Regions from separate parts of the Homo sapiens genome. Here region 1 is linked to region 2. The links are contacts of gene promoters, found by promoter capture Hi-C in blood cells and fetal thymus (Javierre and others, 2016). All regions are on one chromosome and are shown on one strand. Each heading gives the region's core, a stretch centred on a gene start or on the middle of the fragment in contact. The rest is flanking DNA. Distances are from core to core; before and after follow the strand shown.

Evidence for each region. Contacts are between HindIII fragments. The CHiCAGO score rates a contact against its expected background, and 5 or more counts as called.
Region 1: the fragment with the promoter of ITGA6 here is called in contact with a fragment that was not itself captured in region 2 in 14 of 17 cell types (megakaryocytes, naive CD4 T cells, non-activated CD4 T cells and 11 more); the score reaches 13.5 in megakaryocytes.

What each region holds. Positions count from the first base shown.
Region 1 is chr2:172,424,768-172,431,288 of GRCh38, forward strand. It overlaps ITGA6 (integrin subunit alpha 6), which reads left to right and starts at 2,819. Exons shown (of 26, transcript NM_000210.4): 1 at 2,819-3,203. The coding sequence starts at 3,022. RefSeq lists a silencer at 2,767-2,846 and enhancers at 3,631-4,131, 5,556-6,521. The HindIII fragment of the contact is 11,901 bases long and covers 1-5,098 here.
Region 2 is chr2:172,151,214-172,157,651 of GRCh38, forward strand. LOC105373741 (a long non-coding RNA gene) reads left to right here. Exons shown (of 3, transcript XR_923580.2): 3 at 2,087-2,278. It also overlaps the pseudogene LOC124906157. Among named protein-coding and RNA genes, the nearest start is that of DLX2-DT, 51 kb to the left of the region's middle. The HindIII fragment of the contact is 1,479 bases long and covers 2,777-4,255 here.

The sequences.
Region 1 (6,521 bases), core at 1,569-4,068, 270 kb after region 2:
CAACCTCTGTCTCCCCATTTCAAGTGAGTCTTGAGCCTTGGCCTCCCGAGTAGCTGGGATTAGAGGTGCCCATCATTAGACCCAGCTAATTTTTGTATTTTTAGTAGAGACGGGGTGGTGGGGTTGGGTGGGGGGGAGTCTCACCATTTTGGCCAGGCTGGTCTCGAACCCTTGACCTCAGGTGATCCTCCCACCTCGCCTCCCAAAGTGCCAGGATTATAGGCGTGAGCCACTGTGCCTGGCCAAAACTTGATGGTTATAGTCAGAAGGAGCTGACAATCTTCAAATAAATTATGTCAAGAGTGAGGGTTTGACTCAACTTCAAGTATCTTCGGCATCTATGTTGAGAGTGAGAGTTTGACTCAACTTCAAGTAGGTAGGAGACAGGTGGCAGGTAGGAGCACTGAGCTAATAAGTTTTCCATTTGCGATGGGCACTTGACATATTCCAGAACAAGACTCCCAGCCTTGTTTTTCTTTATCTGAACCTCTTCCCACACAAGCATAATTTGCTTCAGTAGTGCTATACATGTAGTTGTGATATTTAAATTTAATATTATTTAGAATTTCAATTTGAGCACAATCTGTGTTTGGGATAAAGTAAATAACTCTGGCCATTCATACATCATCCACTAAACACATCTTGGGAAGACAGGAATCAATGGTCCACAGAATTACTCTTAGAAGCAAGGGGTGATATTCAGAATAGTTAACAGCTGGTGTGACATGGGGATATCCAAGCAGAGGGAGCCCTTGCTGCATCAGGGCTTAAGGGCTTAAACTTTCATTTGCCAGGTTGTGAGGAAGTTGCTTAGTCCTAGGAAAATGGGCAGGGCAGGGATGGTTGCCTGTGAGGAACTAAGGGCAGCAGCTTTTATCAACCAATTCAGAATATTTCAGTAACCATTACAGCCAAATCACCAGCTCCTGGCTGAGTACACTCTGCAGTGAGGTTCATTATACTATGCCTATAATAGTCTGGACCCCATCTCTCTGGAATAGTACATATTTTACACGAAGGGAAAAGGCTAACTTGCAACTTATTTGCATGAAAAATCACGTTGCAAGTACTTCTTAGTTTACTAGATTGTCTCCAATAGTTTCTCAACCTTATCAAGATATATTTGTTAAAACTGTGTGCTCTCCAAAATCATCTACTGAATTTAAACCACTGCACCCCACTTTGGACTATAATTGACTGGAGTTACTGATTGGAAAGGAAGTGGTACACACCCCTAATATACTGACGGACTTACTCTGACAGCTGCTACCACCTGTGGGGACCCTTGATGATGTTCACGCAGCTTTTCTGAGTGGCACATGCTGTTCTCTTGAATACTCCTTGAGGTGAAGAAGAGGCCACCCCTACCCCTATGCACACACAGCTCCTGCTCTTTCCTGGGGCTGCACCCTGCTTGTATTTCCAATGCAGGGATGTCAGATTCCAAAGAGGGCTCCCCAAGGCATTCCAGAAGGCTTCAGGCCAGCACGTCCCAACCTTTTCATGCCATGGGACCCCTTTGGCAGGCTGCTGAAAACCATGGGGTTCTTCTCAGAATAAGGGTTTTAAATACATAAAAGAAACCACAAGAGGTTACAAAAAAAGCCAATAATATTGAAATGTAGCTAACAAAATGTTTTTAAAAATTTGTGCTAGAGCAATATATATGCTTCATTATTGACATATAATATCTGGCTGATTGTCTAATAACTACTGTTATTTGAGATACTTGCAACAACTGTGATGTGATGTAAAAACCTATGGTTTCTAGTGATTACTAAGTCATAAATACTTATCCTACTGCTACTGTAGTTTGTTGTCTACGTTCATAATGGCAAAACGTGCTAAATGTCAGAGGTTGGTGAAAATTAAGACGTAAATTTTTTCTCATCCAAGTTCACAGTACTCTTGAATTAATTACCTCTCCTCGGGTTAAGAACCCCTGCAGGATAAGGTTGCCCCTAGGGCCAACACCTCACTGGAGCCCCGCCTCATGTCCTGGAGGCAGGAGCCTTCATGCCACCTACACAGAACTCGGAGCTGTCTCTTGGCCCAGCAGTTCTCCCCACAACTAGTTCTGAAAGTCCGGGGCTAGGAAAGAACGGCATCGTCGCCTGAGCTCCTGGCGCCACTTTAAACAACCCATCCTTGACTTGCGTGACTTCTTCCACAAGCTCTCCTGGTCACCTGGGCAAAATCCTAGGTGATCTGGGGACAAGGCGGAACTTCGGTTTTCTGATCTGCAAAAAGAAACACCTACCTCATAGGACTGTTAGGATGAATTGAGGTAATGGCTGGGTTGTGTACATTATACAGCACTATCAAGGTGTGCGCTGTGATCATTTTTGAGGGTTGTTAGGTGTTTGAGGACCCAGAACAGTCTACACAGCTGTAGTCCCCAAGTGTTGGGCACGCCTTAAGCGCTCCATAAACACCTGTAGAAATGAATGAATGACGTATGCATCTGCACGTGGGCCCACATCTGCAAGAACAGGCTGCTCAGGCCATGAGGCCCGGTGCATCACCTGCACTTCTCTTTATAACGGGTAGTAAAGTCTCCCTCGCTCTGTGCTACTCGGCAACCACAATTCTGTCCACAGAGGGCGGCGCAGTGGGGCTGCTTCGCCGCGAGCTCGCCTCCGGGGCTCCCACGTCGTGGCTTCCGGGCAGGTACCGGGCAGCTGGAGACGCCAGAGCCGGCGGGTAAGGTGCGGGCGGTGCGCCGGGCCGCGGGCGCGCAAGGAGGGGCGAGAGGGTGGGGAGGGGCGGGGCCGGCGTCCTCGTCACTTGATAAAACGCCTGCGAGTCTCCAGAGAACAACGGGCTCATTCAGCGGTCGCGAGCTGCCCGCGAGGGGGAGCGGCCGGACGGAGAGCGCGACCCGTCCCGGGGGTGGGGCCGGGCGCAGCGGCGAGAGGAGGCGAAGGTGGCTGCGGTAGCAGCAGCGCGGCAGCCTCGGACCCAGCCCGGAGCGCAGGGCGGCCGCTGCAGGTCCCCGCTCCCCTCCCCGTGCGTCCGCCCATGGCCGCCGCCGGGCAGCTGTGCTTGCTCTACCTGTCGGCGGGGCTCCTGTCCCGGCTCGGCGCAGCCTTCAACTTGGACACTCGGGAGGACAACGTGATCCGGAAATATGGAGACCCCGGGAGCCTCTTCGGCTTCTCGCTGGCCATGCACTGGCAACTGCAGCCCGAGGACAAGCGGCTGTGAGTTCCCAGACCCTTCCCACCCCCACTGGGGCGCCGGCCTGCGCGCGAGTTGAGGCGAGGGCGCGCCCTGTTCCCGCCGGCCCCGGGGAGTAGTTGGCCCGTGGGTCGCGCCCGGGCCGGCCGAGGCGCACCCAGCGCCCAGCGCGCTCGGCTCCCCGCCCTGACCCGCCCCGCGCGGCGCCTCCCTCCATTCAGCTCGGGAAGGAGGAGAACCCGAGGGCTAGGCTGGGCCCCGGGAGAGTTTACTTTTTTTTCTGTTTTAAACAAAGTGCTTTCCGCCGGTTCTTCCCTCCGGGCGTGTTTGCTGGGACCCCGGCAGGTGGCACGCTTTGCTGAGCTTCACGTGTGTGTTTGGGGCTGGGGTGGCGTTCAGGGTCACCGCAGCGCTGCTGTGGGTTTGCAGGGAGCGTAGTTCCAGGATGGTCTAGGCCTTTCCCAAACTCACGGTGCACCCCGTCTCCCCCGCAGACTGGCGCGCCCCGCACAAGTTGGAAAGCCACTTTCCATGTGTCCTGCATGACTTTCTCAGCAAGGCGGGGGCGCTCCTTAGGAGATACTTTTACATGCCTTTGAAAAAAAAAAAAAAAAAGATGGGGGTGGGGGCGGGAATTAACCAAACACCTGTTCGCTGGACTAGATCAGCTGAGAAAACAAGTCTGAGTGATGTGCCCAGCCCCCAAAGTACTCGGCCGCACCCGAGACCCGCTCGGCTCCTGCGTTGGGCGGGCACAGCCAAGGGGTTAAAGCAAAATGTCCGATCTGAGCCTGGACTTTGCAAACAAGGTTTGTAAGGGACAACCCCCCACCGTAGCGGTAAACCTCCCAGGAGAAAGAGGAGACCGGCACTACTGGCCTCTCCTTTTATTTCTTAAACAGTGTTTGGTTCCCACATGATCGGCTATTTAAGCCGGAGAGGGTATTTTGGCGCTTAGTCGCCTTAATCGCTATGGGGTTGCATTCTTCATCTGTGCTACTGAAAAATAGGCTGTAGCAACAAAAGGTCTCCCCTCCCCACCCAGGCCTTGAGTTGAACTAAGGACCTTCCAGGACCAACAGACCGGAGAAAGCAAAGTGCAGCCACAGTGAAGAGATTTTGTGTTTAGGAGAGGCGAATGGGATTTTAGAACTGGAGGAAACCTCTTGATTTCAGCGGTTAACAACTTTGGAATTCGTGAATGTTGCAGCCCCTGAATTTTAGTCAGTTTTTTTTTTTTTCTGATAACACCTGCTAGGTGAAGCACAGAAATTAGCTGGGGGTGGGGAGGCTCTAGGAGGGTGGTCTGAGGCTATATGCCTGGCCAGCTGCTTATACTCTGCTTTCTCTCAGAAATAATTGTTGTTAAGCTGTAAATCTGAAATGAAAGGTTCCTGTTAACTCAGTTAATAGATGACGTTTATTGTCTCGGAATACTTGGTGTGTAGAATTTGAGCTTGTTAGTGCAGAAATGATTGTGGGCCAGCAGAGGGAATTCATTCTCCTGGGCATTCTCTCTCTGCACCAGAGCCCCACTGAAACCGGTGGCTTCCTTGAAATACTTGTTCAAGCAAAAAGTGTGAAGGGAAAGTACTGGGACAAGAAATATCCTGGCAGTGGAGATTTGCGAAACGTGACTTTGCCAGGAATCTGTGTCGTGAAGGTTAGCAGCATGCTTGCTAAAACTTGTTACTGCTGCTGGGCTTCTCTGGTATTAGAGCTGAGGCAACTCCTCCCGAGGTAAGGATAAGCCTGCAATGGGGTCTGATGCCTTCTAGGAAAGCTCTTCTTAGCAGCTGACAGAGGGGAGAGGCCCCGTATAAGGAGACTGTATGTTTCCTAGAGTCCAAAGGCAGTGACCACACTTTAAAGAGGCTGTGGTTTATGTCACGTGCTGCCCACCTCCATGCTTTTGTAAAGCTTTATTCCAGCTTCAGGAATAGCATTGGTCTTCCCAGGAGAACCAGCACACACAGGCCATAGCACAGGTCAGTTGTCAACCTTTGACAGTAAAGAATGTGGGTGTAAATGGCAGAGCCAGTAAGACTGAGAAAACTTCTGGACCAGCTTCCTAAACTCTATGGAAAAACTCAGTGGGGGTCTTTCAGGGACCTGGTGGGAGAGAGACCTAAGCTGAGATTCCTTCTCGGCCTTTTATTAGCAGCTGTTAATTTACTTTGAGCTTTAATTTCTTTATCTGTAAAATGGAGATATTACTGCTTACTGGGGTTATTATGAGGATTAAGAGATAATATGCAAAGTGCTTAATGCCTGTCTGGCATGGGTACTTGCTGACTAAATGGTAGCTGTTAATGATCATTTAAAAAGCAGTAATTGTGTACCTACTGTGTGTCAGGTACCTTACAAGGTGTCTTAAACATTCTGTGATTCTAAGATTGCCTGAGAGTAAAGCCAAAGGTGGTTGTTTTTGGGTAATGATATTTTAAACTCAGTCATATTTATGAAACCCATGTTCAAAGCAACTTAACTTTAATAGGTCTTAATTAGACTTATAACAAAAGTGAGTTTAATGAACAGAGGACTTTGAGGAAGGAGAAGTAAAATATCAGATGCATGGGACGGTCAGATAAAAGCACGATCATAGAAGACCTATCATAAATGTTTGTAGTTCAAATTTTCTATAGTGCCTTTAACTATTCAGTCACATTTTAAACTCCAGTTATGACTTTTGCAGAATAATATTGTGTCAGAGAGCCCCAAAACATGTCGGGTGTTCCTAAAGCTTTGGAGACTATAAAATTGAAGTAGATACCATAAACTTCATCCAGGTTTTCAGGCTGTATATTAAAGAAGTTTCGGACTCCAAAAGATTACTCAATGGTCAGCCAAGTTGGTCCGCCGAGTGACTGAGGTCAGGGTCTGAGCACCTTGGACTCTTTAATTTCTCTTAGGTAGTTAAGATTGAGTCATTCCCAGAGGTGGAAGGTATGTGATGATGACTGTGGGTATATCCAGCCTATGAATCATCACTCTTAGCTCTTCTGGGAAGAGATGGATCTATATATGATCACAGGGAAGAACCTAGAAGAAGGAGATCTATAAGAGATAGTCTCATGAAGTCATTTTGGATTTCTGCCAACCCTCATTTTCTTCTTTATGGGGTCTCTCTCTCTGACCACCACTGTCTTCCAGAAATGCTCCAGGCCCGCGGTCTGTTCTGTTCTGACCCTTACTAGGTTTGTTCTTGACTTTTCTCAGACTTGTCATGTTCCATCTCTTAAAATCATATTTTCTGAACTAGAGATCATCTAGTCCAACTGCCTCTTTTTACAGATGAAGAAACTGAAGCTGAAAGTTCAGCTTGAGCAGAATCTTAACAG
Region 2 (6,438 bases), core at 2,266-4,765:
TTCATCACATCCACGCCAAAGTCTATTATTTTTTGATTTTTTTATTATGACTGTTCTTGTGGGAGTAACATGGTATCGCATTGTGGTTTTGATTTGCATTTCCCTGATCATTAGTGATGTTGAACATTTTTTCATATGCTTGTTGGCCATTTCTATATCTTCTTTTGAGAATTGTCTATTCATGTCCTTAGCCCACTTTTTGACGGGATTGTTTTTCTCTGGCTGGTTTGTTTGAGTTCCTTGTAGATTCTGGATATTAGTCCTTTGTCAGATGTTTAGATTGCAAAGGTTTTCTCCCACTCTGTGGGTTGTCTGTTTACTCTGATGATTGTTTCTTTTGCTGTGCAGAAGCTTTTTAGTTTAATTAAGTCCTATCTATTTATCTTTGTTTTTGTTGCATTTGCTTTTGGGTTCTTGGTCATGAAGTCTTTCCCTAAGCCAATGTCTAGAAGGGGTTTTCCAATGTAATCTTCTAGAGTTTTTATGGTTTCAGGTCTTAGATTTAAGTCCTTGATCCATCTTGAGTTGGTTTTTGTATAAGGTGAGAGATGAGGATCCAGTTTCATTTTTCTACATGTGGCTAGCCAATTATCCCAGCATCATTTGTTGAATAGGGTTTCCTTTCCCCACTTTGTGTTTTTGTTTGCTTTGTCAAAGATCAGTTGGCTGTAAGTATTTGGCTTTATTTCTGGGTTCTCTATTCTGTTTCATTGGTCTGTGTGCCTATTTTTATGCTAGTACCATGCTGTTTTGGTGACTATGGCCTTATAATATAGTTTGAAGTCAGGTAATGTGATGCCTACAGATTTGTTCTTTTTGCTTAGTCTTGCTTTGGCTAAGTGAGCTCTTTTTTGGTTCCATATGAATTTTAGGATTGTTTTTTCTAGTTCTGTGAAGAATGATGGTGATATTTTGATGGGAATTGCATTGAGTTTATAGATTGCTTTTGGCAGTATGGTCATTTTCACAATATTGATTCTAATGGGTTCTTTAAGTGGAAATGTTTCTTCTTTTTCCTTTGTTTAAATGTGTTCTTGTGTAAGTCATGGGAAAGACAGGAGGGCTTGATTTGGCCTGTGTCCTCAGAAGTAGACCAGGCCTACCTCTGGATGTCATCATGCTGGCCAAATCTGAACTTGACTAGCAAATCATGAGAATGCAGTTAGTTCGGCCGGGCACGGTGGTTCACGCCTGTAATCCCAGCACTTTGGGAGGCCAAGGCGGGCGGATCATGAGGTCAGGAGATTGAGACCATCCTGACTAACAGGGTGAAACCCTGTCTCTACTAAAAATGCAAAAAATTAGCTGGGCGTGGTGGCGCACGCCTGTAGTCGAGCTACTCAGGAGGCTGAGGTAGGAGAATCACCTGAACCTGGGAGGTGGAGGTTGCAGTGAGCCGAGATCGCACCACTGCACTCCAGCCTGGGTGACAAAGTGAGACTCCGTCACACACACACACATACACAAAGAATGCAGTTAGTTCTTCAATGAGAACACATGGGCACAGGGAGGGGAACATCACACACTAGGGCCTGTACGGGGGTGGGGGGCAAGGGGAGGGAGAGCATTAGGACAAATACCTAATGCATGTAGGGCTTAAAACCTAGATGATGGGTTGATGGGTACAGCAAACCACCATGGCACATCTATACCTATGTAACAAATCTGTATGTTCTGCACATGTATCCCAGAACTTAAAGTAAAATAAATAAAAAAAGAATGCAGTTAGTTCTTCTTGATGCTGGAGACTATCACAATTTGTGGACCTCTGCTTGGCTTGAATGGTTAGCCAGGGAAGAATGTAGTTTAAATATTTTTGCATCATTATTTGTTATAAAAGTCATAGAAATGACTTTTCTAGAGATAGAAAAATACCATTATAGCGTAAGGGTGTTGAACTTAATGTGGAAACAAATCTACCTCCAGAATGTTATTTTCTAGCCTGTTTTTTCTTCTCCATTTTTTACCAGCATCTTAAACTTTTCATCTTTTTCCATTCTGGCCACACCCTGAATGAAAGTTTGCCCATTTCCTCTGCAATGTCTGCCCAAATCTTCCATCAACTCCTTTCCTTTTGCCCTATCAGAGTTTTCCAAGGGGTCCTGCAGCCAACAGACAATGCTCAGCTGGAGAGAATACAGGAAGCAGCTAACCACATTCTGCACCGACTGTCGTCCTTTGATCCTCTCTTTATATAGTGTGCTAAGGACATGTGGAATTAATTTTGCTTCTGAGGCTTCACTAATTGCCAACTGACACATTTGTTTCTAGAAAAAAGGTAAGTGTAGGCCAGGTGCAGTGGTGGATTAGGCTTAAAAATGTTTTTATTTTGCCACAAGAGGAAGCGCTGAGGGTGCTGCTTCCCCGCTGGAGCATCCAGGAATTTGAAGACTGTGCTCAAGGAGAAGAACTGACCCTTTGCTTTCTCTTTTGGGCCATGATGCTATGTCTGGGAAAGCAGAAACTCCAGTGATAAACTATTAGTGCTTGAAGGGAACTTTAAAAGCATTCATTGCAATCATTCTCTTTCACAGATGAAGTAAATGAAGCCTTGAAAGGTGAAATAACTTTCCCCAGGAGATTCCCAATTTTTAGCCCAGTGGTATTCCCAACACACTTTGGCATCTGTTGTAAACTTCAGAGGCCATTACTGGAATCTGCTGGGCATGGCCCCTTCTTATACAGCAATGAGGGAATCCATGGCATTATCTTTTCCCCTAGAGATTGAGAGAATGATTCATCTTTAAGTTTCAAAGAGACAGTGACATATTCCTAAAGCTTCATATATCCATGAGATAATGTCAAACATGTGAGTTGCTGAAACAGAAAATGCTCCCAGTGAGACAGCTGCTACAAGGAAAACCCTGCATACTTGCAGGCAGTGGAAACAATACTTTGGCTTAGACCAGGTGTGTGGGTTTTTTTTATTTGAAAGAAAAGAGAGTCTAAGAAGACAAGGATAATGCTTTAACACCCAGCATCATGAAGGAAAAAAAAAAAGCAACGTTGAGGCCACATTCAAGTCTCCACTCTCTGTTTTACCTGAAAAATTTCAAACCTGCAGGGAAATTGAAAGGATAATACAATTAGCACCTGTACATCCTTCATCTAGATTTACCAATTGTTGACATTTGAAAATTGCAAACATTGTGACGTTTCAATTTAGCGTGCATCTCTTGAGAGTAATGTCGTTCCCCTAACCACGACAGCATGATCACACCTAAGAAAATTAGCAATGATTCTGATGTATAATGTGTATTAAATTTCCTTTCAAATGCCTTTTTTATAACTTTTTTTCCCTCAATCTGAGATCCGATCAAATTCATGCATTATATTTGGTTGTTATGTCTTTGGTCTCATTTAATATAGAATAGTTGTCCTACCTTTTTTTTTCTTTTATGACATTGACTTGTTTGAAGAGATCAAGCTAGTTGTCTTGTGGAATGTACCATATTCTGTATTTGTCTGATTGGTTTCTCATGATTACCTTTGGGGAAACTTTTTTGGCGCAAACAGTACTTATGAAATTGTGTCTCTTTTTCTGTTACACCAGAAGGCACGTAGCATGTTACTGAGTGTGATCACTCAGTTGAGGTGTTTGCCATATCTCGCCACTCCTCCCTTTACAATTATCAAGTCCTTTGTGCAGTGATACTTTGAGTCCATGTGAATATATGGGTCCTCTACAGTTTTAGCATCCACTGCCTGAATTGATAATATCATAGGTTCCAAAATGGTCATTAAAAAAAGTTTATAATGCATATTTTTGAATCCACAGTCAGGAGTTATCTTTGAGTGACTATGGACACAGACTACCCCATATTATACACTCCATCTGTCCAGGACTAAGCTGAGAAGCAGGATGAGCAATCAGGAGACTGAGCAGTGGGCATGAAATCACAGCCCAGTGTGTGAATCGCTTCTTACTATAAGACTAAAATTTGAGGGCAGAACCTCCTTCAGTTTATTTATTCTGTATATCACCCCAACACCTCGTTACCACCCCCAACACCGTGTTACCCTCCATCCCTGTAACACCAAGCACAGTGTTTCACACAAAAGCCCAGAGGATGTTGTGAAATGAATGGAATTAGAGGAAAGAGAAGGTAGTGGTTTCACAAGTTTCCTGGAGGTCAAGGCAAAATCTGGTATTTGGCTCCGTCACGGGATCAACTTGTTTGTGCCTCTTTTTTTTGTGCTCTCTCCCTTTTGGAAACTCACTGTCCAGTCCTCATGCTGCATTCAACTCCATCTAAGCTTAGAGGGACTATGTTTCCAAACTCCAAATCAGGAAACAAAGCTTGATGGAATACTTGCAACCAGGAACCTACATTCCAGAATGATCTGTGCCCTTCTGTTTGCACTTGGATTTATACTATCCTCTTTCTGCATTTTGGCAGATTTTTCTCAGTCCAATTTGCCAGTTTACAGCTTTCCTTATAATGATTCGGTTACTCTTAAATACATCTAGGGAGATCCCTTAGACTCACCAGTAGACTTTCACATTATCTAACTGCATGGCTTGTTGATACTATTCTGAAGTCTGCTCATTTCTCCATTTCCTTCTTCCAATGTCTTTCTTGGAGTCCACTAGACCTGGGGTCCCCACGGTACTGGTCTGTGGCCTGTTAGGAACCGGGCTGCACAGCAGGAGTTGAGTGGCGGGCAAGCAAGCATTACCGCCTGAGCTCCGCCTCCTGTTAGATCAGCAGTGGCATTAGATTCTCATACAGCGCAAACCTTATTGTGAACTGCGCATGCGAGGGATCTAGGTTGCGCACTCCTCTTTTTTTTTCTTTCTTCTTCTTTTTTTCGTGTCAGATGGGTAATGTGCTAACGTCATAACAAGGTTCAAGGGTGGCAGATCTCACACATGCACGTGAATACCCAATCATCATGCTCAGGTTGCACAGTCCTTAGGAGAATCTAATGATAAATGTAGTGTGCTGAAATCATCCTGAAACCATCCCCGCCCCTCTCTGTTCTCCCTTGATCCGTGAAAAAATAGTCTTCCATGAAACTGGTCCCTGGTGCCAAAAAAGTTAGGGACCACTGCGATTCATCTATTACCCACAGCACAGGGCAGGTAAGTAGGAGGTAGGGAGGATTATGCCCATGGAGAGAGCCCTCATGTGCTGGGTGGTGCAAGAGAGGTCTCGGATTCTGATTCCAGTTCTGCCTCTACTCATTGGTGTGCGCTTTGACAAGTCAGTTCCCTTGTTCATCTTCATAGGAAACTCGGTAAAATAATTGTTTATACAGTCGGCCCTCCATCTCTGTGGGTTCCACATCCATGGCTTCCACCAGCTTAAACCAAATTTATCTTCACAAGGCTCCCCCTAGAAGAGAGGAAATTCCACAGCTTTGATGTGATGTGAAATGTGATCTCAAAATGATCATTTTCTAATATTATCATTCCTTTCACATTTATTAGTTGACATTTCTATCAGATCTCTCTTTTTCCCTCTTTCTTTTGAGTATCACCATGGACTGTGGATTTTTTTAGGCAATTCATTGTGTTATCATCCATTACTATCATTGTTCTTTTATTCTATTTGCTGCTCCAGTTCTTCCAAGTTAGGGTAGCAGGAGCTCTTTCAAGCTGGTTCCTGTAATTTTTTGACATGTCTTGGTTGGTCTTTGAGCACTTCATTGCTTTCTGGTCCAACAAAATGTCCCAGGCTCACTTTTTCTCCATTCCAGACCTGGAATGAGGATTTCATCAAAGGATTCTTAGGGGGACTGACATTTATAAACCATGGCTCAGGTGCTAGTGCATTGCTACTGGGGGACATTCACGTTAAAATAAAATCAACTTAACGATAAATTGTAGTTACATGTTTTTTCTGAGATATATAAATAATCAACTTCTCTGATCTCAGAATTAGATAAATCAGGAATGAATAACCAAGGTCAATAATAAGAATTCTCAAAGAAGCCCCAAGAATTTTTTTTTTAAAGAAGTGTCTGAGGGGCCGGGCATGGTGGCTTACACCTGTAATCCTAGCACTCTGGGGGGCTGAGGTGGGCAGATCACAAAATCAGGAGCTGGAGACCAGCCCGGCCAACATGGCGGAACCCCATTTCTACTAAAAATACAAAACCCCATTTCTACTAAAAATACAAAAATTAGCCGGGCATGGTGGCAGATGCCTGTAATCCCAGCTACTCAGGAGGCTGAGGCAGGAGAATTGCTTGAACCTGGGAGGCGGAGGTTGCAGTGAGCCGAGATTGTGCCATTGCCCTCCAGCCTGGGTGGCAAGAGCAAGACTTCATCTCAAAAAAAATAAAAAATAAAAAATAAAAGAAGTGTCTGAGGGACACTTTCTTAGGGCTGCTGTAACAAAAAGCCACAAATTGGGTGGCTTAAAATAACAGAATTTTATTATCTCACAGTTCTGGAGGCTAGAGTCCAAAATCAAGGTGTTAGCACCCTCT